Regions from separate parts of the Homo sapiens genome. Here all the other regions are linked to region 1. Evidence: promoter capture Hi-C in human tissues and cell types (Jung and others, 2019). All regions are on one chromosome and are shown on one strand. The core of a region is centred on a gene start or on the middle of the fragment in contact, and the rest is flanking DNA. Distances in the headings are between cores, read along the strand shown. Region 1 holds the start of HRK (harakiri, BCL2 interacting protein). Region 2 overlaps MED13L (mediator complex subunit 13L). Region 3 overlaps MED13L (mediator complex subunit 13L). Region 4 holds the start of MED13L (mediator complex subunit 13L).

Region 1 (2,839 bases), core at 113-2,612:
TTGCATGTAGAATTGTTGGGAGATTTACCTTTAGGCAGCAGAGGCAAGGGCGCCCAAAGCCCACAGGTGCCAGACATAGAAGATGCGCAGTAGGTCTTGGCCATTATGAAGCCTAGAATAATTGGAGCTGGGTGAGGGAAAAGGCCACCAGAATCACACAGTGTTGTGGGCTTTGAGCCCTGACTTTGTTGTCATTTCACCACGCTGTGGGCCAAAAGGGACATTTCTCCTCCTGATCAATTCAGACCAAAACTAAGTTCACAGACTCGAAGAATCTTGGTTATACTCTGCGGTGGGAAGGCAAGAACGGAAGCTCCCTCAGCAGGTTCCAGACTCCCAACTTGGAGCCATCTCTGGACTCATCCCGATGGTCTGAATCCCAAAGTTGTCTGAATCCCAGTCGATTTAAGATCACAGGTTTCATTCTCCCCCACAGAATCCTGACAGCCGCCCAGCCCATCTGAACCTTCACCGTTTGTGACAACTGCAGACGCTCCAGTCTGGAGGTGCACAGGAGTGGCTGTCGGATTGGAAAAGGGGGAATTAAAGTCCCCCGCGCCCCTCCTCTCGCCGACCCCTTAGGGTCTCCACTGCGCATTAAATCGGGGTCATCGCAGAAAACTGTAACGCCATCAGGAAAATAATGTTCACAAAGAAAGCAGACAAGAAGTTTCCCTTTAGAAAGCCCCTTGCGAGGGTCTTTTGGGTGCGGGTGCCGGGCAGCGAGAATGCCTCCGTCCGCGCCCCACGCGAGCTCAGGTGGGCCCATCCAGCCTCCCACCGGGCGCTGGGGGCACTTTAGGGTCAGGTTTCTAGCCAGGCGCTGGGGGCACGTTAGGGTCAGGCTGAAAGCCTACAGGTGCCAAGTCAGACCTGAAACGAGGCAAGTTGGGTGTAATCTGACCCTTCCATAAGATTTTGAATCCACCCACCTCCCCCAAACAAAACAACAGCCTCGGAATATTTTTGAATAATGCAGCCGAATTCAGCATCAGCTTCATCCAAAACGGCAAACAAGCCTTTTTCCCTCGCCAAATCGGAACTCGAGCTGAATTCAGGAAAAGGGGAAGGAGAACAACCTTCCCTCGCGCTCCGCGCCTCCGCGGGGGTCCCCCGAGACCCCCAAAGCCCAGGACCTCCGCTGCGGGGAGCCTTCTCGCGCCGCCCCGCGCCGCGCTCCCCGTCTCCCAAACCTCGCGCTCCCTAGCTGCCGGCGCCGCTAGGGTTAAAAGTTACCTCTCGGTTTCTTCTGCCTGCAGCCCCCCCCCCAACCCCCGGGGGCCGGATGATGTAACCCCCCTCCCCGCCCCCCTCCACCATGTGACACTTTAATTAATAATAGCGCCGTCAGCACAACAAACGCACAACACAAGGAGAAACTTGGTGTCCAGGGGAGGCCCCCGGCGGCTGGAGCGCGGCGGCAGCGGGCGCAGAGGCCGGAGGGAGAGGAGGCGAGGGGCGGCCCGAGCGCGGGGCGGGAGCGAGGCCAGCGGTCATGTGCCCGTGCCCCCTGCACCGCGGCCGCGGCCCCCCGGCCGTGTGCGCCTGCAGCGCGGGTCGCCTGGGGCTGCGCTCGTCCGCCGCGCAGCTCACCGCCGCCCGGCTCAAGGCGCTAGGCGACGAGCTGCACCAGCGCACCATGTGGCGGCGCCGCGCGCGGAGCCGGAGGGCGCCGGCGCCCGGCGCGCTCCCCACCTACTGGCCTTGGCTGTGCGCGGCCGCGCAGGTGGCGGCGCTGGCGGCCTGGCTGCTCGGCAGGCGGAACTTGTAGGAACGCGGGGCTTCTTGGTGGGGCCGGAGCCGAGACCCAGCCGGAGCGAGCAACAGGTACGCGAGCGAGCGAGCGAGAGCCGGGGCGCGGCAGCTGGGCACTGGAGACGCTGGGCTGGCCCGGGAGCGGGAGAGTGGCAAGTTTGGCTTTCTTCTTTTCCCTTCTCCTTCTTCCTCCGTTCTCTTCTCTTGCAAGCATCTCCACCTCTCCTCTTCTACCCAGTCCCCAGTCTTCCCTTCCAAGTGTAAGGTCCACCGTTTCTGCCCCCATCTCTGCGAGTCCTTAAGCGCATCTTGCTACTCACTTATAGCTCAGTGGCTTGCGGAGGACTTCAGCCTCCATAATCCCCACCAGCCCCACAAATAAACACACAATGCAAGTAAAAAGTGTGCTTGCTATGGGAATGTAGTTGTAAGCCACGCCAAATACTTAAAATCTATCGCACTTCCAAGAAAGGTCCCCGGTCCCGTTCCAATCCTCTTGCCGTTCCTGAGTCGCCCCCGTCTCCATCACCTTTGCTCCCAACCTCTTGTCCCTAAGTGTCACTTCTCCAATCTCTGATCCCCATTATCTGGCACCCCAAGCGCATCTCGAGACTTCCTCCCCCTCCAGGTTTCTGGCTGGCCCAATCTTTCTTCCCAAGCTCCGCGCATTTGCAATTTTCCTCTGCCCTGCCAACTTCGCTCCTTCTCGAGTGAGGTGTCCTGTTTAAGGAGTTTGGCTTCCTTCTCCCCAGACGGTTGTAGCTGCTACGGGAAGGAGACGCCCTCGGAGTGGGCTGGAATAGGGGGCTTTCAGGGAAACTCCAATGGGAAGCCTTAAGGAAGGAACATTTATTGAGCTCCTTCGGGGTGCTGGGCACTGTTTAGGGAGGTCATGTGTTGAGAACTTAGGACAGGAAGTGGGTACTGAGCACCTAGTGTGGTTGGTATCAGTGGGAGGAAGGTACTAGGCTCTTGGGGTGGGGGGATCATTGTGCCCTAGCTGTGCGCCTGGCACTGTGCTAGGCGCTTTGAGGAAGCACACAGCGTAAGCATCGTCTTACTACTCTGGATCCTGGAGTAGCGA
Region 2 (2,839 bases), core at 200-2,699, 890 kb after region 1:
CCCCTAAAGAAATGTGGATGATCAGCTTGGGTGAGTCCTTTTACTAGATAGGCCTTCGGACAGAAAAGCAGTCTGTGTGCATGAATCAGTGGTGTCGTCTTTCAGGATGAAAAATAAGACATTTTATTGCAGGGGAGGTCTGGGTTTCAAATTTTAAGATGCCTAAAAGTACCAGATAATGTAAATGAATGTGATGGGAGACATTTGCAAAAGGCAGTGCCTTAAGCTGTCTTTTCAAAACTCACTTTCTATTTTGCAGGCACAGGAATAGGGTTCATAAGAAACGTGCTTGCTTTTAGTTTCCTCAAATCTGTGGTTCTCTTGGTCTGTGATTTCCTGCTTTTGATAGAGCCATTAATACAAGAAGTATTCACTGTTGTTGTTTACTATATGTAAAAAGAAGCACTGGCTGAAGATAAAAGGCAATGAAAACTGCATCAGACTCAGGACAGACAGCAGGGAAGGGGCCATGAGGTGCCTGAGAGGGACAGCTGCTCCTCAGCTCCAGCAAGTGGTGGTTATGCAGGAATATGGGTCTCCCAGTTCAAGGGAAGCTGGCAATCTAGATTTGTGTGTGAAATTTCCTGGAGTGATTTGTTCCAAAGTTTAACAAAATATTCTGTGGACCACCACTTTGCAACCTGTGTTTTACTGATTTAGGGACACGTTTGAAAATGTCTTAAGAATCCTTAATCATCCTGTGTTTCAAATTTAGTTGGCAGATAAATCTTAGATTTCTTTCCATGCCCCTTCCCTCATCAGCTAGAAGGGTAAGAGGGAGGCAGAGTCTTCAGGAATCCAGCTGTGCAGATTCACACCACATCACCTCCAGCGTCATTAGCTCTTTCTGCAGACCTTTTTAAGAATCTGATTTGCATGATGAACCCTCCATCCTGAGAAAAAAATACGTATGTCCAAGCGTGCTTGCACAGTTTTGCATGGAGTTCAGACAACTTTCAAATTTTAGGTTAGAAATCCCTCCCCAGGGCGACTGCTGGGACTAAAGTCATCTGCATTTAGAAGGCAGTGAATCCCATCCGTGCCTGCAGCGGACTTCGGTCCTTGAGGGCTTCAGCTGTGTTTCCCTGTGCCTCTGGCTGCACTGAAGATTGGCCTTCTCTTCATGCATTCTGTATTTTGTGAAAATATTTTTACAATTAGGAGCATTTAAAGAGTTTTTAAAAGCTTTTATTTAAGTTCCATTTTTTCCTACTTATCATATAAACAAAACATTGATATTTGCAAATAAAAGTAATAATTAAGAAACTTTTGCAGCTGTCTTATGAAAATCCTTGGAAACAGATTTCCATGGTTTTAAAAAGTCGCACCTATCCATTTTTCCACTTTTAAACAATTCTTCCATTAAACTTTTTTATATAGAGTAATCCATTTCCCCTTTTATTATTGTTGATACTAAATTATCAATTATTTTCTCTAATTTAGTAGAAGAATATCTTTCCTCCTGACTCCTAAGTCAAATATTTTAGAATCTACTACAGCTAATAACGTCATTGTTCTGAATATAACTGAGGCTCGAGGTGATGGTGAGGAAGAGGAGGGTGCTAGCCCCCTTATCTTCTCTGTTTCTTCTCACTTCTCTTCCAGTGCTGGACATCAGCATGCTCTCCTCCCAGGATGTGGTTCGTATGCTGTTGTCCCTGCAGCCCTTTCTCCAAGATGCCATCCAAAAGAAGCGCACGGGCAGGACCTGGGAGAACATCCAGCATGTGCAGGGACCACTCACTTGGCAGCAGTTCCATAAAATGGCAGGACGGGGAACCTACGGTAGGGTCTTTGTCCTGTTTAAAATTCCTTCTGACTTCAGTGCTGTTCAGTGAAGAGCAGCGTTAGTTACTGTCAAGTCCTTGCGTCACTAACAAAATAGGGGAGTCTTTTTCTTTGACCATTTAGTTTTATAATCTCTTTGTTTTCCTAAAGTTACTTTTGGAGTCAAGTTTCCTACCACCCTTGGCATAATCCAGGTCAGTGAGGAAGCTAATCCCTAAAAAGTGCATTTTTTAGATTCTCCTCATTTTCCCAATCCTCACTGCATTTTCATCTGGATGGACTTCTGGGCCAGTTCTGTCTACTTCATCATAGTCAGAATCATAATGCTTATCTTGAAGGAAATGATGTAGTGCTGCTTGGAAAGTTAATTTTAACTTGTTCTAGTCTGCCCTCTGATCTTACTGAACCTTTATAAACAAATTCTGACTTACTTAATTAAGAGTCCTCATCAGTGACCATTTAATTAGATGATTTCAAAAATACTTTTAAGAATGTCTTGTGAACATGGAGTGACATTTCAGATGCCAGAATTAAGACCAGTGCACCAGGAATTTCAAAATTGTAAGGTTGTGGGAAAAACTCTCTAGCACCTTTCTACACTACAATGTCATTTTAGGTTCGGAAGAATCTCCTGAGCCGTTGCCCATCCCCACTCTGCTGGTAGGCTATGACAAGGATTTCCTCACCATCTCGCCATTCTCCTTGCCGTTTTGGGAGAGGCTCTTGTTGGACCCATATGGGGGCCACCGTGATGTTGCCTATATTGTGGTGTGTCCAGAAAATGAGGCCTTGCTCGAAGGAGCCAAAACTTTCTTCAGGGACTTGAGTGCTGTATACGAGGTGAGGAAGTTACTGTGAAAATTGCTTTTTATGACTTGGATCCTCTGATTGTTTATAGTGATGACTAAATTTCAAGACAAATGTCTTGAAAGTAAATCTCAGAGAAAATTTGCAAACAGGTGGATGAAGAAGAGAATTGAATTGGCCAATTTTTCTGGAAGCAAATTGCTTTCCCATCTTTGCTTTATATTTGTTAGATTTAGAAAACGTT
Region 3 (2,839 bases), core at 97-2,596, 760 kb after region 1:
TGCCACCAAATTCAGCTAAGTTTTTAAAGTTTTTTTAAGAGCTGGAGCCTTGCAATCCTACCACTTGATCTTCCAAAGTGATAGGATTACAGGTGTAAGGCACTGTGCCTTCTTAAGATTAAGTGTTAGTTTTCTCATGTATAAAATGGAGATTAGAATCAACTGTATTCATCAGAGTTCTTAGCTTCAAACTAAGAAAAGGAGTTGATTAAAAGAATATTGGGTATCCAACTATTTGGCACTTTTACAATCGGCGCTACAGAACTGGTTCAATGAGAAAGGTACTGCTAGCTACCACCAAGCACTAGATGCTGTGGTACCTCTGCTACTTTAGCACCAAAAACTTGATCTTGAAGCCTCTGTTCCTAGAGCTGTCAGAAAGATATCTCCATCGGCTTTCTTTTTGTCCCTGGATTCAGAGTCAAAGGTGTCGACCAGGAGCATCTGGTAGGGGTTAGAATGTATGTCCTTGTCCACACTGTAGGGGAGGATGGAAAAGAGAGAATCAGTATTTTTAGTTTCCGTTAGGGGTGATTATATTTGATCCCAATTAGGACTCTTAATGATAGTGATAATGAAGAAGCCCGACACTGAGTGACAGAAGTGTGCCAGATGTCTCATAGTGTGGTGGTGAGTAGTCTCCCCACCTCCCCATTTATATGTAGTGCCTAATTCAAAGCTTGGCACATAAAATAAAACAAGAATGATTGTTTTCTGGATAGAAAACCAACCTTGATTATATGTTATTTAATTGTTAATTTAAAATTTAAGACATTTTATGCTAGTAGCTATTCTGCAAAGTTTCAAAATAATTTTTGCTTCCGAGTGGTTTGCACATACATGTGTTAGCTTTTTGAGAGCATTCCTAGTTCTTAGCCTGGTGCTTGACACATAACACGGTCAAGTAGTGTTGTCTAGTTAATGTTGATCAAATTATCTGTTATTAGATTCCAAGCATGTCTTTGCAGATTTAACTTATTTTGAAATTTTAGGGATTTATTGAAACATATGCTGCTCCTGTATTTCTGGAAACTCTGATCATGAGAAAAAAAGGATGGTCTGATTTACATTCTGTTTGACAAATGCATTTGTTAGTGATAGTAAATTGAAAGGGTCAGCAAATTAATGCATTATCCTTAATTTCATAGCCTAAATTGATAGTATTTATTAGAGTGGTTATTGGCTTATAATTTTTTATGATAAATTGATTATTCTTGAATCTTTAGTATGTAATTTTCAATGCAATATCTAAGACATAGGAAATTTAAATCCAAACACTGAATGCTTTTTAAATTATCTACTGATTTATATTTAAATTTTGTTTGTTAACTTATAATTTATAATTTTCTATTGTTTTCTAAGCTTTAGTACACTTTCCTTAGACAAGGGCTTAATATAGTATGATTTGTTTTATTTTGTATTACTACTTTCCTATTTTATATTAACTTAGTGCCCAAACTTTATGTTAATTTATGTTATATACTTACAGAATATAAAAGAACAGATGAGAATGACCATATAATTATTTTTCAAAATAATTTTTAGCATTTAAAAAATAAAAATTTTGACTGCGTGCAGTGGCTGACACCTGTAATCCCAGCACTTTGGGAGTCTGAGGCAGAAGGATCACTTGAGCTCAGGGATTCAAGAGCAGCCTGGGCAACATGGTAAGACCCCATCTCTACAAAAAAATTAAAAAGTAACTGGGCATGGTGGCCTATGCCTGTAACTCCCAGAAAGTGGGGAGACTTAGGTAGGAGGATTGCTTGAGGCTGGGAGGTCGAGGCTGCAGTGAGCTGTGATCATGTAACTGCACTCTAGCCTGGGTGAAAGAGCGAGACCCTGTCTCAAAAAATTAAAAAAATGCCTTAAGATGTTTATATTTTGTTACATTTGCATTATATACAGTGTTTGATATGAAGTGAAGAATATAACTGGTACATTGGGCTCTAGGAACAGTTACTTCAGTCTGAATTTCCTTGTTAATTACTCAAACTTTTTTTTTTTGTTTTTAATACTTTATGAATGGAGGTTAATCACATAAATACCATATCTTTTGGATTTAGAGAATGCTTTTTATATATAAATTTAGAGTAGGAGTCCTTTTGATTACAATACTAAGAAAATAAAGAGGTCAATATTAGCATATTCATGATGGCTTAAGTCTAGAAACTTGGCCCAATGGTAAAATGAGTTTTCGTAATTTAGAACAGTAAAAGATTGTGAGTAAAGTTTACCATATTTAGTAAATAATACATTATTTAGTAAATAATATTTCTGCGCGTTTGCACAAATGTATGCAGGTATGTAACTGCCACTATAATCAAGATATAGAGTGGGGGGCATCACCCCTCAAATTTCCGGTGTCCCTTTGGTATCAACCTGTCTCACCACCTCCATCCCTGGAAACCATTGAGAAGTTTACAGTACCTTAAATTTGCCTTTTGCGAGAATGACATATGAATGAATCATACAGCACATAGTCTGAGTATGGCTTCTTTTTACTTAGCATAATGAGATTCATCCATATTTTTTCTTGTATTGGAAGTTCCTTTTTATTTCTGAGTAGTAGCCCATTGTATAGATATTTCATTGTTTTTCCCACTGTTGAGAGACATTTGGATGGTTTCCAGTTTTTGGCATTTACAAATACAACTACTATATACATTTGCTGTAGTTTGTTTTGTGTTGTGAGAGTACAGTAGGAGAAAAAGAGTTCGTTTTTTCCTAGAACCTTACATCCTCCAAACTTGAGTATATACCTAGAAGGATGTAAGGTTCTAGGGAAAAACAAACTCTTTTTCTCATGTACTCTCACAACACAAAACACTTCTGTGAC
Region 4 (2,839 bases), core at 184-2,683, 600 kb after region 1:
CAAAACTCAGTTCACGTGTCTTAAGACTTCTCTTATTATACACTCTCATCTCTTCCCTGCTTTCTACTCTTCCTTTTTTTTTTTTTTTTTTTTTTTGAGACAGGGCCTCTCTCTGTCACTCAGGCTGGAGTACGGTGATGCGACCTCGGCTCACTGGGCTCACTGCAGCCTCTGCCTCCAGGGCTCAAGTTATCCTCCCACCTCAGCCTTTCGAGTAGCTAGGGCTACAGGCACATGCCACACTACGCCTGGCTAATTTTTGTATTTTTGTATTTTATTTTTTTTGTCATGACGGGGGTTCTTGCTACATTGCTCAGGCTGGTCTTAAACCTCGGCTAGGATTACCGGCGTGAGCCACTGTGCCAGCCATCCACTCTTCCTCTTTTAGCTTAATCTACCTGAAACAGCTGATTGTTCCATGTTTGGAGGCGTATTAGTGAAGACATTGTTTTCTCCTCCCCCTTTTCGGGGATCCATTTCTTGAGGACTGGGAGAGCTTCTCTTCATAGCAGCACTCCTCCGGACTCCCAGGCCATATACACTCAGGAAATGTTGGTTATCCAATGAATGACGCCAGGAAGAAGGGTCTGCTCCCAACACGGCCTTAGCACAGTGCCTGGAAGTTATAACAGATTCTGGCACACAGCAGGAGCTCAGGAAACATTTATGTAATGAATGAATGAATGAATGAATGAGTGCACACAGTAACTAGGAGTAAGGGCTCAATAAACATTTCTGTATTAAACGCACAGTGTCTGGAACACAGTAAGCGCTCCGTCTATGGCAGCCGTGAATATCCCTGGGCGAAGCCTGTGAAACCTTGTCCAAGAGCTTGGCTTCACTGTGCGCGGGTTCGAATCTGGACTCCTCTTCCCAAGTGTGCGACCTCGGGCAAGTGATTTAATCCCTTTGTGCTTTAGTTTTCTCCTCTGCAAAAGGCGGACGGCGGCGCGAGCCTCTGAGGACACATTCCCCAGGGCACTCGGACCCGCTGCCTGGCCCACATCGCGGCCGCCGCGCCACGCCAGCCGGCCTGGGCTGCGAGGGCACAGGCCGGGGGTCCCGCGCCCTCCTCCGCGGCCACCACGGGCGCGCCCGGGACCCACGGTCCCGCCCCGCCACGATCAGTGCACCGCGAGGGGGCGGGGCGGCCACGAGGGGCAGCCCACGGCAGCCACGGGCCGGCAGTCCGCCGCCCGCCGGGGAGCCCGGCCGCCCGCACTTCTTTCTCTCCCTCTCTGCCTCCCTCCCTCCCTCTTCCCGGCCGGAGGACCCGGCCGCGCTCAGCTCAGCAGCGCCTCCCGCGAGCCGCCGCCGCCGCCGCCACTCCGGACCCCTCCCCCGCCCGCCCCTCGCTCCCCCCGCGCGGCCGGCGCCCGTCACGTGACCAAGCGCCAGCCAATGGCGGGCCGAGCCGCGGTCGGCGGCCGCCATTGCTGTCAGAGCAAGCGAGCCCGGGGAGGGAGGAGAAGCGAGGCTGACTGGGGAGGAGGGGGGGGTGGGGGAGGAAGAGGAAGGAGGGGACGTCGCTCGGCTGCCGGGGTCGCCCGCTGGCTTCGTCCGCACCCCCCCCTTCGCGAGTTCGCGCTCCGCGGCGGCGGCGGCTCCGAGGCGGCGGCGGCGGCTCCGGGGCTCGCCTCCCCTCGCGCGCCGGCGGGGGCCGAGGGGGAGTCGGTGGCTGGAGATAAACAAGGCGGCGGCAGCGGCAGCAGCGGCGGCGGCGGCGGCTGAGGAGCAGGGAAGGCGGAGGCGGTGGCCGGCCCGCAGCGCCGGCCCGGGGCGCGCGCCCCCCCCGCCAGCCCGGGCCCGCTGCCCCCGGCGCGGCGTCGCCGCGGCGCCTCCCGCCTGCCCGCCGGCCCTCGCGCCCTCCCCCGGCGGCGGCGGCGGCCCGGCCGCCCCGCGCTCCCCGGCGAGGCGCCGCCGCCCGGCCCGGCCTCGCCTCGGACGCCTCGCTCCGACATGCCCCGCTCTGGCGGCCGGGCTCGCGGAGGATCATGACTGCGGCAGCGAACTGGGTGGCGAACGGGGCGAGCCTGGAGGATTGTCACTCCAACCTCTTTTCGCTGGTGAGTAGCCGGGCTGCGGGGAGGGGGCTGTGCCGGGGAAGGGGGGGGGTCCCCGACCTCCGCCGCCGACCAACTTTCTCCTCCCGCCGCCGGGACTTCGCCCCTCCCTCGCGTCTCCCCGCCGTTCGCCTCTCGCCGATTCTCCCCCTTTTGGATCGTCTCTCTCTCGCCTTGGATCCCATCCAGTGTTTATTTGGCTCTTTAAAAATCATTTGTGAGCGCGGCGCTCGGCGTGGAATTTGCATGTGGAAGTCTCGGAGCTGCGGATTCTGGGTCGCACTTCGAACGCCCACCCTCTGTTGCAATCGCACTCCCCTTCTCCTCCCCTTTCCCCCCTTTTTTTCCCCCCGTAAATGTGGAAGGCTTTGCCTTGTGCTGCCGCGCCTCCGATCGGCAACCTCTTCCCCCGTTGTTGGATCAGCTGCCTGCCCGCCCGCCTGCCTTTTGAATTTTTTTAAATTCCATAATGACACCTGCAATTTCGCCCTAAAATAGTTGATTGAATGCGATTGTGTCAGGAAAGGACTCTTGCACCCGAAGCTCCCGCGATTGTAAACATCGACAGCCGCCTGCCTCTCGGGGCTTACTATGCTGGAGAGCCGTAAAGCCATTGCACCGAGCCGACGGAAGGTGGAGAAAGCTTTTTCTTCTTTCTCTCCTCCTGTGTCTTTTAAAAACTGTTTTTCTCTATCCTAACAACGAATCCGCACACACACACACACACACACACACACACACACACACACACACAAAAGCAACAAGCTGGTCGGTTT

Evidence for each region. Contacts are between HindIII fragments. The study calls those that stand out against the background at their distance.
Region 2: a fragment that was not itself captured here is called in contact with the fragment with the promoter of HRK in region 1 in 2 of the 25 tissues and cell types used here (mesenchymal stem cells and mesendoderm cells).
Region 3: a contact is called between a fragment that was not itself captured here and the fragment with the promoter of HRK in region 1, in 2 of the 25 tissues and cell types used here (dorsolateral prefrontal cortex and hippocampus).
Region 4: a contact is called between the fragment with the promoter of MED13L here and the fragment with the promoter of HRK in region 1, in 1 of the 25 tissues and cell types used here (mesendoderm cells).

What each region holds. Positions count from the first base shown.
Region 1 is chr12:116,879,964-116,882,802 of GRCh38, reverse strand. It overlaps HRK (harakiri, BCL2 interacting protein), which reads left to right and starts at 1,362. Exons shown (of 2, transcript NM_003806.4): 1 at 1,362-1,827. The coding sequence starts at 1,496. The coding sequence ends at 1,771. RefSeq lists an enhancer at 208-1,169 and silencers at 1,675-1,754, 2,633-2,833. The HindIII fragment of the contact is 18,466 bases long and covers 1-2,839 here.
Region 2 is chr12:115,986,055-115,988,893 of GRCh38, reverse strand. It overlaps MED13L (mediator complex subunit 13L), which reads left to right. Exons shown (of 31, transcript NM_015335.5): 18 at 1,606-1,785; 19 at 2,405-2,628. Among named protein-coding and RNA genes, the nearest start is that of LINC02463, 100 kb to the right of the region's middle. The HindIII fragment of the contact is 3,301 bases long and covers 1-2,839 here.
Region 3 is chr12:116,116,836-116,119,674 of GRCh38, reverse strand. All of the region lies in intron 2 of MED13L (mediator complex subunit 13L), which reads left to right. Among named protein-coding and RNA genes, the nearest start is that of MIR620, 30 kb to the left of the region's middle. The HindIII fragment of the contact is 3,682 bases long and covers 1-2,839 here.
Region 4 is chr12:116,276,287-116,279,125 of GRCh38, reverse strand. MED13L (mediator complex subunit 13L) reads left to right here and starts at 1,433. Exons shown (of 31, transcript NM_015335.5): 1 at 1,433-2,066. The coding sequence starts at 1,995. RefSeq lists silencers at 1,025-1,084, 1,135-1,604. The HindIII fragment of the contact is 5,179 bases long and covers 1-2,839 here.